3 separate regions of the Homo sapiens genome follow, and all the other regions are linked to region 3. The links are contacts of gene promoters, found by promoter capture Hi-C in blood cells and fetal thymus (Javierre and others, 2016). All regions are on one chromosome and are shown on one strand. The core of a region is centred on a gene start or on the middle of the fragment in contact, and the rest is flanking DNA. Distances in the headings are between cores, read along the strand shown. Region 1 has its middle 50 kb from the start of COQ2. Region 2 overlaps COQ2 (coenzyme Q2, polyprenyltransferase). Region 3 holds the start of COPS4 (COP9 signalosome subunit 4).

Region 1 (4,539 bases), core at 1,135-3,634, 200 kb before region 3:
CTGTAAAGAGAGACACTTTCACTTCTTTTCCAACTTGGATTATGTCCTTATTTCTTCCTCTTTCCTAATCGATCAGGCTAGGACTTCCAGCACTATGTTGAATAAGAATAGTAAAGGTGAGCATCATTGTCTTATTCCAGTTCTTAGAGGAAAGGCTTTTAGCTTTTCCCCAGGTGGTATGATGTTAGCTGTGGGTTTGTCATATATGGCTTTTGTTATTTTGAGGTATGTTTCTTTTACGCCTAACTTGTTGAGACGTTTTATCATGAAGGATGTTAAATTTTATCAAATGCTTTTTCTGTGTTTATTGAGATGATCATATGGTTTTTGTCCTTCCTTTGGTTAATGTATCACATTTATTGATTTGCATATGTGGAACCATTTTTTGCATTCCTGGGATAAATCCCACTTGATCATGGTGTATTATATTTTTGATGGTTGTTAGATTTAGTTTGCTAGTATTTTGATGAGGATTTTTACATCTATGTTCCTGAGAGATATTTTTCTCTCATAGTTTTCTTTTTTTGTGTGTCCTTGTCTGGTTTTAGCATCAGGTAATGCTGGCCTTACAGAATGAGTTAGAAAGATTTCCCTCCTCTTTAATTTTTTGGAATGATTTGAGAAGAATTAGTGTTAGTTCTTTATAAGCTTGATAGAATTCAGCAATAAAGTGATCCAGTTCTGGGCCTTTCTTTGTGGGGAGAGTTTTTATTATGATGTAATCTCATTATTGGTCTGTTGAGGTTTTCTGTTTCTTCCTGGTTTAATCTTAGAAGGTAGTATGTTTCCTGGTATTTAATCAATTCCCTCTAGGTTTCCTAGTTTTTGAGCATATAGTTGTTCATAATTCTCGCTGATGACCTTTTGCATTTCTGGTGTCTGTTGTCATGTCTCCTTTTTCATTTCTGATTATGTTTATTTGGATCTTATCTCTTCTTGGTTATTCTAGCTAGCAGTTTATCAATTTTGTTTTTCTTTGCAAAGAACCAACTTTTTGTTTCATTGATCTTTTGTCTCTTTCATTATTTATCATTGCGGTTTGGTGGTTTTCTGTAGTGGTAACATTTGATTCCTTTCTCTTTCTCATTTGTGTATCTGCTATGCCAGTGAGTTTTACAGTCTTATGTGTTTTCTTGATGGTAGACATCATCCTTTCTGTCATGTGTGTCCATGTGAAGAGACCACCAAACAGGCTTTGTGTGAACAACAAGGCTGTTTATTTCACCTGGGTACAGGCGGGCTGAGTCCGAAAAGAGAGTCAGCAAAGGGAGATGGGGTGGGGCTGTTTTACAGGATTTGGGTGGGTAGTGGAAAATTACAGTCAAAGGGGGTTTTTCTCTTATGGGCAGGGGCGGGGGTCACAAGGTGCTCAGTGGGGGAGGTTCTGAGCCAGGAGGAGGAATTTCACAAGGTTAATAGTTCAGTTAAGGTGGGGCAGGAACAAATCGCAATGGTGGAATGTCATCAGTTAAGGCAGGAACAGGCCATTTTCACTTTTGTGGATCTTCAGTTGCTTCCGGCCATCTGGATGTATATGTGCAGGTCACAGGGCATATGATGGCTTAGCTTGGGCTCAGAGGCCTGACACTTTCACTTCTAGATGAAGGACTCTCAAACATTTCTTGTAGGACTGGTCTAGTGGTGATGAATTCCCTCAGTTTAAAGTATTTCTTTTAAACAAATGAACACTTTTCTCTAGATAGTGAATCTAAATCTCCTCCAGCTTGTTCCATTGCAGATTGACTTATATAATTTGGTCTGAAGATAATTCATCTTAGAGAAGATGATGCACTCAAAACAGAGAAGATGTTAAGAGGCTTTTGAAACTATAAAGCAGTCCCACTGCTGTTGTCCGAGTTTATCAACTCTTTTGCAAATTATGTATGAGTCAACACTACTGCTTACCTGGCTTCTACTTTATGAGTAACAGCTAAATAAATGAGTCTAACTTGGAGAAAATCAATGTTCATTTTCTTTTGCAGTTGTCATCTGCAGCAGGACCTCACTTGAGTACTGCCTCTGAGCCTAGGTTCTGAAAGCTAGTTTAAAATTCCCTCTTTAAGTTTGTCTGCTGAATGTTCTGTGACAAATTCCCTTTCACGCACGTCCATGTGAAGAGACCACCAAACAGGCTTTGTGTGAGCAACAAGGCTGTTTATTTCACCTGGGTGCAGGTGGGCTGAGTCCGAAAAGAGAGTCAGGGAAGGGAGATAGGGGTGGGGCCGTTTTATAAGATTTGGGTAGGTAAAGGAAAAAGGGGGGTTTTTCTCTGGTGGGCAGGGGTGGGGGGTCACAAGGTGCTCAGAGGGGGAGCTTTTGAGCCAGGATGAGCCAGGAGAAGGAATTTCACAAGGTAATGTCATCAGTTAAGGCAGGAACAGGCCATTTTCACTTCTTTTGTGGCGGAATATCACCAGTTAAGGCAGGAACCGGCCATCTGGATGTATACATGCAGGTCACTAGGGATATGATGGCTTAGCTTAGGCTCAGAGTCCTGACATTCCCTACTTCATCTCTCATGCTGAATATAGTCCCTGCAGGATACTTTAATTTTTTGGAATGATTTTTAAAGATTGGTGTTACTTTGGTAATAATAATTGTTTTTATTTTGGTAAATATTTAACTTTAATCAGGTCTTCATTAGACTTAAACTAGTTGACTTCAATAGTCATGGAATGCCTTTAATATTCAAGAAAATAAAAAATAGGCTGGGCATGGTGGCTTATGCCTGGAATCCCAGCATTTTGGGAGGCCAAGGCAGGAGGACTGTTTGAGCTCAGAAATTTGAGACCAGCCTGGGCAACATGGCAAAATCCTATCTTTACTAAAAATACGAAAATTAGCCAGGAATGGGGGCATGTGCCTGTAGTCCCAGCTACTCAAGAGGCTGAGTGAGTATTGCTTGTGCCCAGGAGGTCGAGGGTACAGTGAGCCGAGATCATGCCACTGCACTCCAGCCTGGGTGACAGAGTGAGTGAGACCCTGTCTCAAAAAAAACAAAAAAACAAACAAACCAAAAACCAAAAACTAAAACAAAACAAAACAAAAACAAAAACAAAAAAACTCAAGAAAATAAAAACGAATATAAAATTCTAGAAGAATACTACAGCTCATATGTTAAATGTAAGTCAATAATAAAGTTTTTATGAAATGTTATCCCTTTTAAAAGAGTTCTTCTTATGAATATAGGTTTCTTAGTGTATATTTCAAGAATAAACAGTAAGACAGTTTGTTTCTGCCATCCCAAGCTACCTGAGATTAAAAACTATATTTTCTAAAATTGAGTTGCTGGCAAGGAATTTGTCTTATCATACTTATTCAGAATTTGTTTTTCTAGGCCAGTAATGCCTGTAATCTCAGCACTTTGAGAGACCAAAGTGGGAGGATCACTTGAGCCCAGGAATTCAAGCCCACCCTGGGCAACACAGCAAGACCCTGCCACTCCATTATTTTTTAAAATAAAAAATAAATAAATAAAAATTTGTTTTTCTATAGCCTAAAGAAAAATAATTGCCTCTGTTAACATTACATTTCCAAGAAAAATTGTCTGCAAATAGTTTAATTTTAGATGATTACCCCTCTCCAAGGTAGGGCTGGAAGGAGGATAAATTTGGCAGAGACATAGGTTGCACATACTGATCTCAGTTTCTGTTAGGTGCATATAAATAAAAAAAAGTTTCTTCATTTTATTAAAGCCCTATTTTTGTATCATTTTTAGTAATGTATATACCAACATAAATGCTTGATCTCAGTCTCTCCTGATAATTACAAATCAACATATCCAATGCTTAAAGTTACTGTTAAATTAATGTAGAATTGTCAGGTCTTCATTAGAAGTAGTAAGTAGAACACAGAGATTGGTCAAATTTTTCAGTACTTATACTTTTGAAAAAAAGAAAAGAGTATTCTATTCCTGCCAATTAGTATAGTCTTTACCCTGATAAACAATGTCAATATACATTATGATTTTAATTATAAACCCCCTGGAGACAGCAAGTATGTTTATATTTTATTAGTCATTGTACTTAAGAAGCCCCAAAGCTCTCTATTCCTAGTTCAGATTTTCTTTTGTTTGTGTGTGTTTTTGTTTTTTTTTGGATGAAGGTTAAGAGGAAGCTTTCTTTCTTACTTAAAGGTTTGTATGCTGGGCAGATAGTTAATGGTACAGAAATCCAAGCTTTATTTGGGGGAACAAGAGAGCAGACAGGACATAGAGGTCTTATTGGCAGAAGTGGCAAAGTAGGGGACAATCTTTCATAGGATCATAAAATTATAGCCCCCAAACACAATCTAGTGAAATCACCTTGTTTCTAAGAAGGTTTTCACAAAGAGCTAATACTAAAGAATTGGGGTTACAGAATACATGGTATTATCCATGCCAAATACAAACACATGGACATCTTTATTGGAGGAGAAATTTGTTCTGCTCAAGAGCATCTTAAAGATTTCTATTTCCCAGTCATTATTCTTTCCCACAATCCCCTCCCAATAATTAGTCCAGAGGTAGGTCTGGGTTCCCATGGTGGCAGGATATTCAAA
Region 2 (4,772 bases), core at 1,337-3,836, 230 kb before region 3:
TGGGTAGCTGGGACTACAGTCATGCACCACCATGCCTGGCTAATTTTTTTTATTTTTTGTAGAAATGGGGTCTTGAGATTTTGCCCAGGCTGGTCTGAAATTCCTGGCTTCAAGCAATCTTCCTGCCCTGGTCTCCCAAAAGTGCTGGGATTACCAGTGTGAGCTACCAACCCCAGCCAAGGTATATTATTTTTTAAAAATAATATAGGCCTAAATCCAAATTTTCCCATCTGATTTTCCTGGAATTACTTCTGATTCATGTCTGGAAAAATTTCAGTGATATCTGAAGCTTGTGGTTTGAGTTGAATTACTCTAAAAGCAAACTGACAGATAAAGCTTTTAAAAAAAAATCTGGGTTTCTAGTGATGGTTAGTAGACTAATTATTCATAAATTTGGTTTCTGCTGGCATAAAGACCAAGGACAGATAAGACATGAAATGCGGAACATGTCAAAGTTCTGCCAGTAGAGAGCAGGAAGCTGTCATTTCAGGATATTCACCCACACCACATCCCCTACCTGTCAGAAACTTATGTTGAGAATCTACATTGTTGACTTGTAAATGAATGAACTAAATCTAATTTTGATTAAATCACTTGCTAATAAATTGACTATATTTTTATATCAGTGTTATTGTTATTTTCATTAAACAGAATCAAAAAGGTATTCATGGTGGATCACCTGAGGTCAGGAGTTTGACCAGCCTGGCCAACATGGCAAAACCCCGTCTGTACCAAAAATATAAAAGTTAGCTGGGCATGGTGGTGGGCACCTGTAATCCCAGCTACTCAGGAGGCTGAGGCGGGAGAATCGCTTGAACCCAGGAGGTAGAGGTTCCAGTGAGCCAAGATCACACCACTGCACTCCAGCCTGGGCGACAGAGCAAGACTCCATCTCAAAAAAAAAACAAAAAAAAAAGAAGATATTCATGAAGCTGTATTTAGATGACTGATTTTATACAGATTATTGCCAATTACTATCAGTATAGGCAAGACTCACATAACATGGTATGAAGGAAATCAGAATCTGATGTCTGTAAAGTAAACCATATGCTGTGTCCCCTCCACTGTTTTCCTCACTGTGAAAACTAAAATGTGAATTGGTGACTTTCCAGGATGTCACCATTTTTCCCTTCAGAATTTCTCAGCATCCCTTTTTGGTCATAGCTCAGCTCCATGAGGGCTGACATTGTCATTTGATTGTCTGGTCTGGATAATGGGTATATGTTAATATTTAAACACCTGAATATTAAATAGTACAGGAAGGCAAAAATTATTAAGACAATCACAAATACTATAAGGAATATTCGGCCAGGCGCAGTGGCTCACGCCTGTAATCCCAACACTTTGGGAGGCCGAGGTGGGCAGATCACTTGAGGTCAGGAGTTCAAGATCAGCCTGGCCAACATGGATAAACCCTGTCTCTACTAATAATACAAAAATTAGCTGGGCATGGTGGTGTGCACCTGTAATTCCAGCCACTCGAGAGGCTGAGGCAGGAGAATCACTTGAAACCTGGGAGGCAGAGGTTACAGTGAGCCAAGATGGTGCCACTGCACTCCAGCCTGGGTGACAGAAGGAAACTGTGTCTCAAAAACAAAGGAAGAAAAAAGAAATACTTGGAGCCCACTTTATATTTTAAATCACATTTATGGTCCTCTGTCCAGTTTTGTTGTTGTTGTTGTTGTTGTTTGTTTTGAAACAGAGTCTTCCCTCTGTCACCCAGGCTGGAGTGAAGTGGCACGATCTTGGCTCAGTACAACCTCCACCACCTCCTGGTTTCAAGCGATTCTCGTGCCTCAGCCTCCGTAGTAGCTGGGATCACAGGCACACGCCATCATGCCCAGCTCATTTTTGTATTTTTTTAGTAGAGACGGGGCTTCGCCATGTTGGCCAGACTGATCGCAAACTCTTGGCCTTAAGTGATCCGCCCACCTCAGCCTCCCAAAGTGCTGGGATTACAGGCATGAGCCACCACGCCTGGCCTCTCTGTCCAGTTTTCGATACAGTGTTTAAAGATGGACGTAGCCTTTTAGTATTTAAAGAGAAAGGAAATCATGATAATTGTAAGTCTGCAGACCACATAATAAAGAATAGTCCCCCATGCCTAAGGAAGATAGGAACATACGTGAGACTTCCTTAGTGTATTTGCAGGGCTACCATGGGGAAAAAGGAGTACGCTTGTTCTAGATTACTAGCAACAGATTTAGGTCTCTAGCTCCCCTTCCCTAAATGTAGGTCCCTGAACAGGAGAGATTTAGAAATGTGGGAGGGCATTTTTGGTTATAATAAACTAGGAGGGGTGACTATATGGATGATGGCCAGATACAGTCAATATCTTGTGCTGCACCAGATTGCCCTGCATTAGAGTTGTCCTGCCCAAATGGGACTTGTTCTCCATTGAGAAACTTTGCTGCAGACGCTAAAACCAGAACTGGAGGGTAGGAGTTGCAGGGAGACAGACTTTAGATCAGTCAGTATAAGGAAGAACGTTCTAAATCGTTAGAACTAAAAACAGTATGGGTTGCCTCACAAGCATTCATGCAACCCTCAACCGAAAATTCTTAAGAAACAGCTTGGATGATTCCAAGTGAAAAATATGGTAAATTTTTCTTTTTCTTTTTCTTTTTTTTTGAGATAGAGTCTCACTCTCTCACCCAGGCTAGGAGGGTGCAGTAGGGTGATCATGGCTTATTGCAGCCTTGACCTCTTGGCCTCAAGCAATCCTCCCACCTCAGCCTCTTGAGTAGCTGGGACTACAGGCATGTGCCTTCGTGCCTAGCTAATTTTTCATTTTTTATATTTGTATTTTTTGTATTTGCTGTTTTCTCCTCCGTGTTAACATGTTTATTTGTTATGACCCAAAGTCCAGACTAGGTATTAATACAACTTTGTATTCCTCTCTTGCAGATTTACACTCTAGACATCCACAGACCTGAGGATTGTTGGAATAAATTTATCTCCAACCGAACACTGGGACTAATAGTTTTTTTAGGGATTGTCCTTGGGAATTTGTGGAAAGAAAAGAAGACAGACAAAACAAAGAAGGGTATAGAGAATAAAATAGAAAATTAATGAATGAAATTTATCTAGGAATTTTTAAAACATTTTTTACAAAATATAATTAGATTTGAATACAAAATCTGATACAATATGTTAAAGAATTAAGAACCTGAAGATGAAGATTTAGAGCATATTTACCTGGATTTTACTTATTTGCTAGCAAAATTCCCCCTTGTCACAGAAACCAGGGACTCTTCAGGATTTGAGATGGCCTTGAGTATTTTAGTTGATACATTCTTCTGCCCATTATAATTCTCACCTGAAGTTATGGGGATTGCACGGGTTTTGGCACTTTAGAAAAAGCCTGATGTGGGTCTTACATAAATGAATGTCTGTATAAGAAAATGGACTCTTTTTTTTAGGGAAAAATAAAAGCAACTATGGGAAGTTGGGCCTTACTGTTCTTTATTGTGACCTTTAGTCACTGCCAAAAACTGTAATTTAGGAAACCAATTCTGTTTTTTTATGTTTTAGGAGAATTTAAATAACCAAATAGAAGTATTTAGCTATTATAGCCACATGTACCACTGTTTACCAACCCTGACTTTTATTTGGGAGATTTGGTCTCTGTGTGCAGTCACAGTGACCAGAACAGACAAGTGGGCAGTCACCAGAGACTACCTTGATTTTCTGTCTATATCTTTTTTATCTTATCCCATTATAGTTTATAGGATAGTGATATTTAAATGTTTACTGTTTTTTCCTTTACCTGCCCTCACCTTCACAATGTTCTCAACACAGTAACCAGAGTAATTCTCTTAAAACCTGAGTAAGGTCATGTCATTCCTCTCCCCAGAACCCTCCAGGATCTCCCTAGGTCACTCAGTACAAAACGAAAGTCCTACCACCTGCCAGGCCCTCCATGACTTGGCTTCATGTCTGACTTCTCACACTCACACCTGTAGCCCCACTGGCCTCACTCTTCCTTAAACAGGCTGGGCAGACTCCTACCCCAGGGCCTTTGCATTTACTGTTCACTTTGTCTGGAAAGTTCTCCCCAGATCATGTCTTACTCCTTCACTGCAGAACCTTTCTTAAATGTCACCTTCTCTAAGAGGCTTTTCTTAGCCATCTTCAAAAATCTCACCTGCAAATACCACCCATACTTCTGTCCCCTTGCTTTTTTTTTTCTCTTCAGCTCTTAATATTAGCAACCTGAACTATATCTTACTTGATTTAAATTGCTCTCATAGACAGTAGGCTATAGGGCAGACAGTCATTTGTATATGTGGGTGTGGGCAGCAGTAAATATAAAATTGCATGATGAGGGCGACGATGATGGTGATGATGAAGATGATGATGCAGCTAACAGCACTTACATATGCCAGGCACTGATAAGCATAGGAAAAATTATTTAACTGTTTACTCAGCAAATACTGAGCCACTGAAAATGACTTGGGTCAGTTGTTGCAGCTGTAACTTTGCTATAGCAGCAGTGAGTTGAAGGGGAGAAGAATTAGGAACATAGTACCCTACTTTTGAGGAAATATGATTGGCTTTGATTTTAACAGAATAGACAGAGTTTAAATCTATGTTGATTTCTGTTTTCTTACAGATACGACCCTATATTTTAAAATGCTTAAAACATCTTAACCCATTGCACTGGTTCCAATTAAAGAAGGGTGAGTACAATGTACTTCAATTTTACAACATTCTCCTTAGTTTATGAAAGTTAAAAATGGAACAGATTTTAAAATCACTAAAAATCCTGC
Region 3 (4,370 bases), core at 1,702-4,201:
ATCCTCAATAAAGTCTATCCTCCGTTGTGGCTCTCCTATTCTAAAGCTTTATGTGAGATAATAAATACAATGCATAATATGCACAAAAGCAGCCTATAAAATGGAGGAAATGCTTTTCCTCTGGCTAATTTCTTATATAAACTTTAGACAGCTGTGTTAATTCACAGTTATGGGAAAGCATTTCTAACTGAGTTTTTAACAAGAAAACGAGCATAGTCTGGTAGGTTTAAAATGAGCTTTTTAGAGTAGATGAACCTGGATTCAAATACAAGCACTGCCCCTTTCTAGCTATTCATTAATTCAACCACGTTTATTGAACAACTACTGTTACAGATATCCCAATTGCTAGGAACACACAGTATTGATGTTTTAGAAACAATGTATTCCATTATTCTTTAATATGGAATCCTTTGTTACTCAGCTCCTAAAAAAAACACCCAAAAACCTTCATTAAAAGTACATACAAGAAAAAATACATTAAAAAAAAACACACTGATATATTTCAAGGGTATTTCTCTTAAAGCATATAGCTGGTAGAACTGATGTTGTTGTAAGGATAAATATCCTGCTACATTCTTGCCCACATAGGAAATGCAGGCAAGGCCAAGACTTTTCTCAGAAAGCAGCTCTGAAGGAGTTATGGCTAAGACTGCACTGGCTATCAGTTATCAAGCACATTATTTCATTTAATCTTCACAATAACACCATGTGGTAGACTGCTACAGTAACGGCTTCCAATGAATCGTGTCTCCCTCTGTCCAGGCTCCTTTGCAATGTAACTTTGCCACTAAAGAGGTAGTAGTAAGCTCCATTTCCCCTCCCCTTGAATCTGGGCTGGTCTTCTGATTTACTTTGACCAGTACTAGAGAACTGACGTGAGACTTCCTAGGCTATCCTTAAGAGGTCTTGCGACTTCCCCTCTCATAGGCACCTAAGAAAGCCCAAGCTAAACTACTGAATGAGAGACTGTGCAGAGAGAGAGAGAGATCCAGGCAAGAGCAAGATATGCATGTGAGTCCCGCCCCAGGTGTGTTGCCAGCTGACTATATCTGCATGAGTGAGCCCAGACAAGACCAGCAAAGCAGTCCAGTCAACCCATAGAATCCTGAGAAATCATAGTTGTTTTACACTGGTTAAGTTTTTGGTTTGTTACAAAGCAACAGATAACTGAAGCACGCTTTAAGTACTATTGTTTATCTCCAATTCAGACCTGAAGAAGTAAATACTTAAGTTTCAGAATTCTGCAAATACTTGCAAAGCTCTATTTCTTTTGATAACTAATGCACTTATTCTTCTTTAACAAAATAAAAAGTAAAGGAAGCATGGGGAAAAATATAAGCTGATTTTACTTTCATCCATATAAAAATTACAAGCAGAAAGGATTGAGCCATGAAGACATATTTAACTTATTTCCAACCCATACAATAAGTGAATATATATTTACTGACAGCTTAATAGTAACAACAACAATCTTACCGCACTTTCTATATGTCAGGTACTGTTCTACGTGATATAAGTGTGGTAAGTATATATGCACACACATACTCATCTTGTCCTCAGATAATGTCAGACAAGAATAAGTCCTATTATTATCTTCATTTTCCTGAGTGGGAAAATGCAGCACAAAGTAGTTAAGCCCAAAATATACGGCTGAATTTCCCACTGATAAAAGTAGATTACGTTTGCCACCAGAGAAAAGGCAGCCTAGCCTACTTAAAACAGTCAGAATTTCAATGACCAGGTTAGAACAGGTGTATCCCATTAATATACATCAAAGTGATTTCAGCTGTCAGGATGTAAACATTAAGATCAACTTGAGAGGCATACTTTATTTACTTATTTATTTACGGAGACGGGTGGCGGCGGGGGGGGGGGTCTCACTATGTTGCCCAGGCTGGTCTAGAACTCCTGCCCTCAAGTGATCCTCCCTCTCAGATCTCTCAGGCCTCAAGTGATCTCAGCCTCTCAAAGTGCTGGGATTACAGGCGTGAGCCACTGCACCCGGCCTAGAGAGGCATACTTTAAACAGAAAGCATGTTCATTACAAAAGAGAAATGCTGTGACATCTACAAAGAGAAAATGAACAATATACGTCTACCTACCTATGCTTAATACTGTTGACAACTGCTTGCAGAACAGGCACGTCACACATTTTAACTTGGAGTGAACCTAAGCATTCTATATAAATTTCGACAAAATTCAGATTCCTGCAAACATCACTACTGTAGACATCCTGACCCACGATATGAGCACATTCCGCCTATGTGCCATCAGAGTTGGTGGCAGAGAAAATACCCGAAACACAAGGACCCACAGAAGACAGTCTGAATGGTCTGGACGACATGACAGCGGCCATACCGCCTCAACCTCAGCCAGCCCCAAGAAGCCATCTCCCCGAAAAACGCAGCATCAAGGCCCCAGAATATACATTTCTCTGAATCAAAAAAAAAGAGGAGGAAGGTCCAAAGAGAGGCCAGATTCGGTGTGAGGCCGGCCAGCGATGGGAAGAGGTACCAGGGAAGGCTACTAAGGCCAGGGTAGCAGTCGTCTCTCAGACCGCTGTTCCAAAATCCTAAGGGACCAGAAAGATTCTATCAAGAACTGAACAAGCTGACAATCATTTCAAGTCTATAGCCTCGAAGGCCCCTGCACAAGGTCCCCTCCAGCTTTCTGCTTCTCCCAACATTTGCCTCCCCAGCCGACCTCAGGCCCGCCCCCTTGGACGTCAGGCCGGCTCCTAGCTTCACGCCCAAGAGCCGTGGCCAACCTAAGGAGATTAAGGCTGTGGCTTTCTTTCCCCACCTCTGTACTCCCGCGTTCCTGGGAAATACTCACTTGCCAGCCAGATCTTTATGAGAGCCGCTCGAATTCATGAGCTGGGCCAAATCCTGTCGCACGGCTGCCGCCATCTTTCTCCCAGCTCAGCGGTGGATGCGGGGGCCTCTGGCAGCCAAAAAGAAAACGAGTGTGGTCCTCCAGAGTGCAGCCAGAGGGAACCTGAGATGCTACAGAGTAGCGTCTGTGTGGGCCAGAGCGTCGGGTGTGGGAGCCTGGGCTAGCTCCGCCCCCAGGGTTGAGTGATGCGGAGCTCCACTCCTCAGGTCTGAGGCCTGCCCAGGTCTCTCCTACAGGCTCTGGCTCTCACGCTTGGACTTTGGATTGGCTGATGAACTCCAGTAGTGAGTCTCTGGTGTAACTCCAATGAGTAGCCGGTACATAAAACGACTGCGTTTTCGCAAAGTTCCGTTTCTCACGTCTGTGGTTTACCGTCCTTCGATCTTTCAGGCAGCGCTTAAACTGCCTGTGGTAAAGAATGAGTTTTGTTTCCGATTCACCACAGAAGATACTTTTTAGAAATACAATTAAAATGTCCCTATTCCTCCTCCCACTCCGTGCACTTTATAATGGTTGGTCAGACATTCCAGTTTGTCCAGTACAAAGCGATTTTCCCTCTGTCGTCCTGGAGTAATGATTAATATCCCCCCTTTCGGCCGGGCGCGGTGGCTCACGCCTGTAATCCCAGCACTTTGGGCAGCCGAGGCGGGCGGATCACGAGGTCAAGAGATCGAGGCCATCCTGGCTAACACGGTGAAACCCCGTTCTCTACTAAAAATACAAAAAAATTAGCCGGGCGTAGGTGGTGCACCCCTGTAGTCCCAGCAACTCGGGAGGCTGAGGCAGGAGAATGGCGTGAACCCGGGAGGCGGAGTTTGCAGTGAGCCGAGATCGCGCCACTGCACTCCAGCCTGGGAGACACAGCGAGACTCGGTCTCAAAAAATAATAATAATAATAATAACATCCTCCCTTTCATTCTAGAAACCGTTCCATTTCAATGGAAGATTATATGGTCGCCTGCGTTTGTATAACATTCAATACTCATGTATTCTTATAGAATTTCTGCAAATACAAGCAAATATTAATAAAATAAAATTTTACCTCTCACAAGCAACACCACATAATTGTTCTGCCTTGGTTTTTTTTTTTTGCACTTTTCCTGGTACTGTGGTTTGAAATAATTGTCTTCTCCAAAACTCATGTTGAGGGCTGGCGCCGTGGCTCACGTCTGTAATCCCAGCACTTTGGGAGGCCGAGGTGGACGGATCACCTGAGGTCGGGAGTTCGAGACCAGCCTGACCAACATGGAGAAACCCCGTCTCAACTAAAAATACAAAAATTAGCTGGGTGTGGTGGCACGTGCCTGTAATCTCAGCTACTCGGGAGGCTGAGGCACGAGAATCACTTGAAGCTGGAAGGCGAAGGTTACGGTGAGCCAAGATTGCACCACTGCACTCCAGCCTGGGCAACAAGAGGGAAATTCCGTCTCAAAAAAAAAAAAAAAAACAAACAACTCATGTTGAAACTTCATCTT

Evidence for each region. Contacts are between HindIII fragments. The CHiCAGO score rates a contact against its expected background, and 5 or more counts as called.
Region 1: a contact is called between a fragment that was not itself captured here and the fragment with the promoter of COPS4 in region 3, in 2 of 17 cell types (neutrophils and M1 macrophages). The highest score is 5.7, in neutrophils.
Region 2: a fragment that was not itself captured here is called in contact with the fragment with the promoter of COPS4 in region 3 in 12 of 17 cell types (M1 macrophages, total B cells, neutrophils and 9 more); the score reaches 7.8 in M1 macrophages.

The regions. Positions count from the first base shown.
Region 1 is chr4:83,232,456-83,236,994 of GRCh38, reverse strand. No RefSeq gene overlaps it. Among named protein-coding and RNA genes, the nearest start is that of COQ2, 50 kb to the left of the region's middle. RefSeq lists an enhancer at 1,406-1,455. The HindIII fragment of the contact is 3,468 bases long and covers 651-4,118 here.
Region 2 is chr4:83,262,499-83,267,270 of GRCh38, reverse strand. It overlaps COQ2 (coenzyme Q2, polyprenyltransferase), which reads left to right. Exons shown (of 7, transcript NM_001358921.2): 7 at 2,908-3,447. The coding sequence ends at 3,072. Among named protein-coding and RNA genes, the nearest start is that of COQ2, 20 kb to the left of the region's middle. The HindIII fragment of the contact is 4,496 bases long and covers 339-4,772 here.
Region 3 is chr4:83,033,764-83,038,133 of GRCh38, reverse strand. It overlaps COPS4 (COP9 signalosome subunit 4), which reads right to left and starts at 2,951. Exons shown (of 10, transcript NM_016129.3): 1 at 2,836-2,951. The coding sequence starts at 2,909. RefSeq lists enhancers at 2,462-2,521, 2,063-2,568, 2,582-2,641, 2,682-2,731, 2,832-3,181 and 2 more. The HindIII fragment of the contact is 6,632 bases long and covers 49-4,370 here.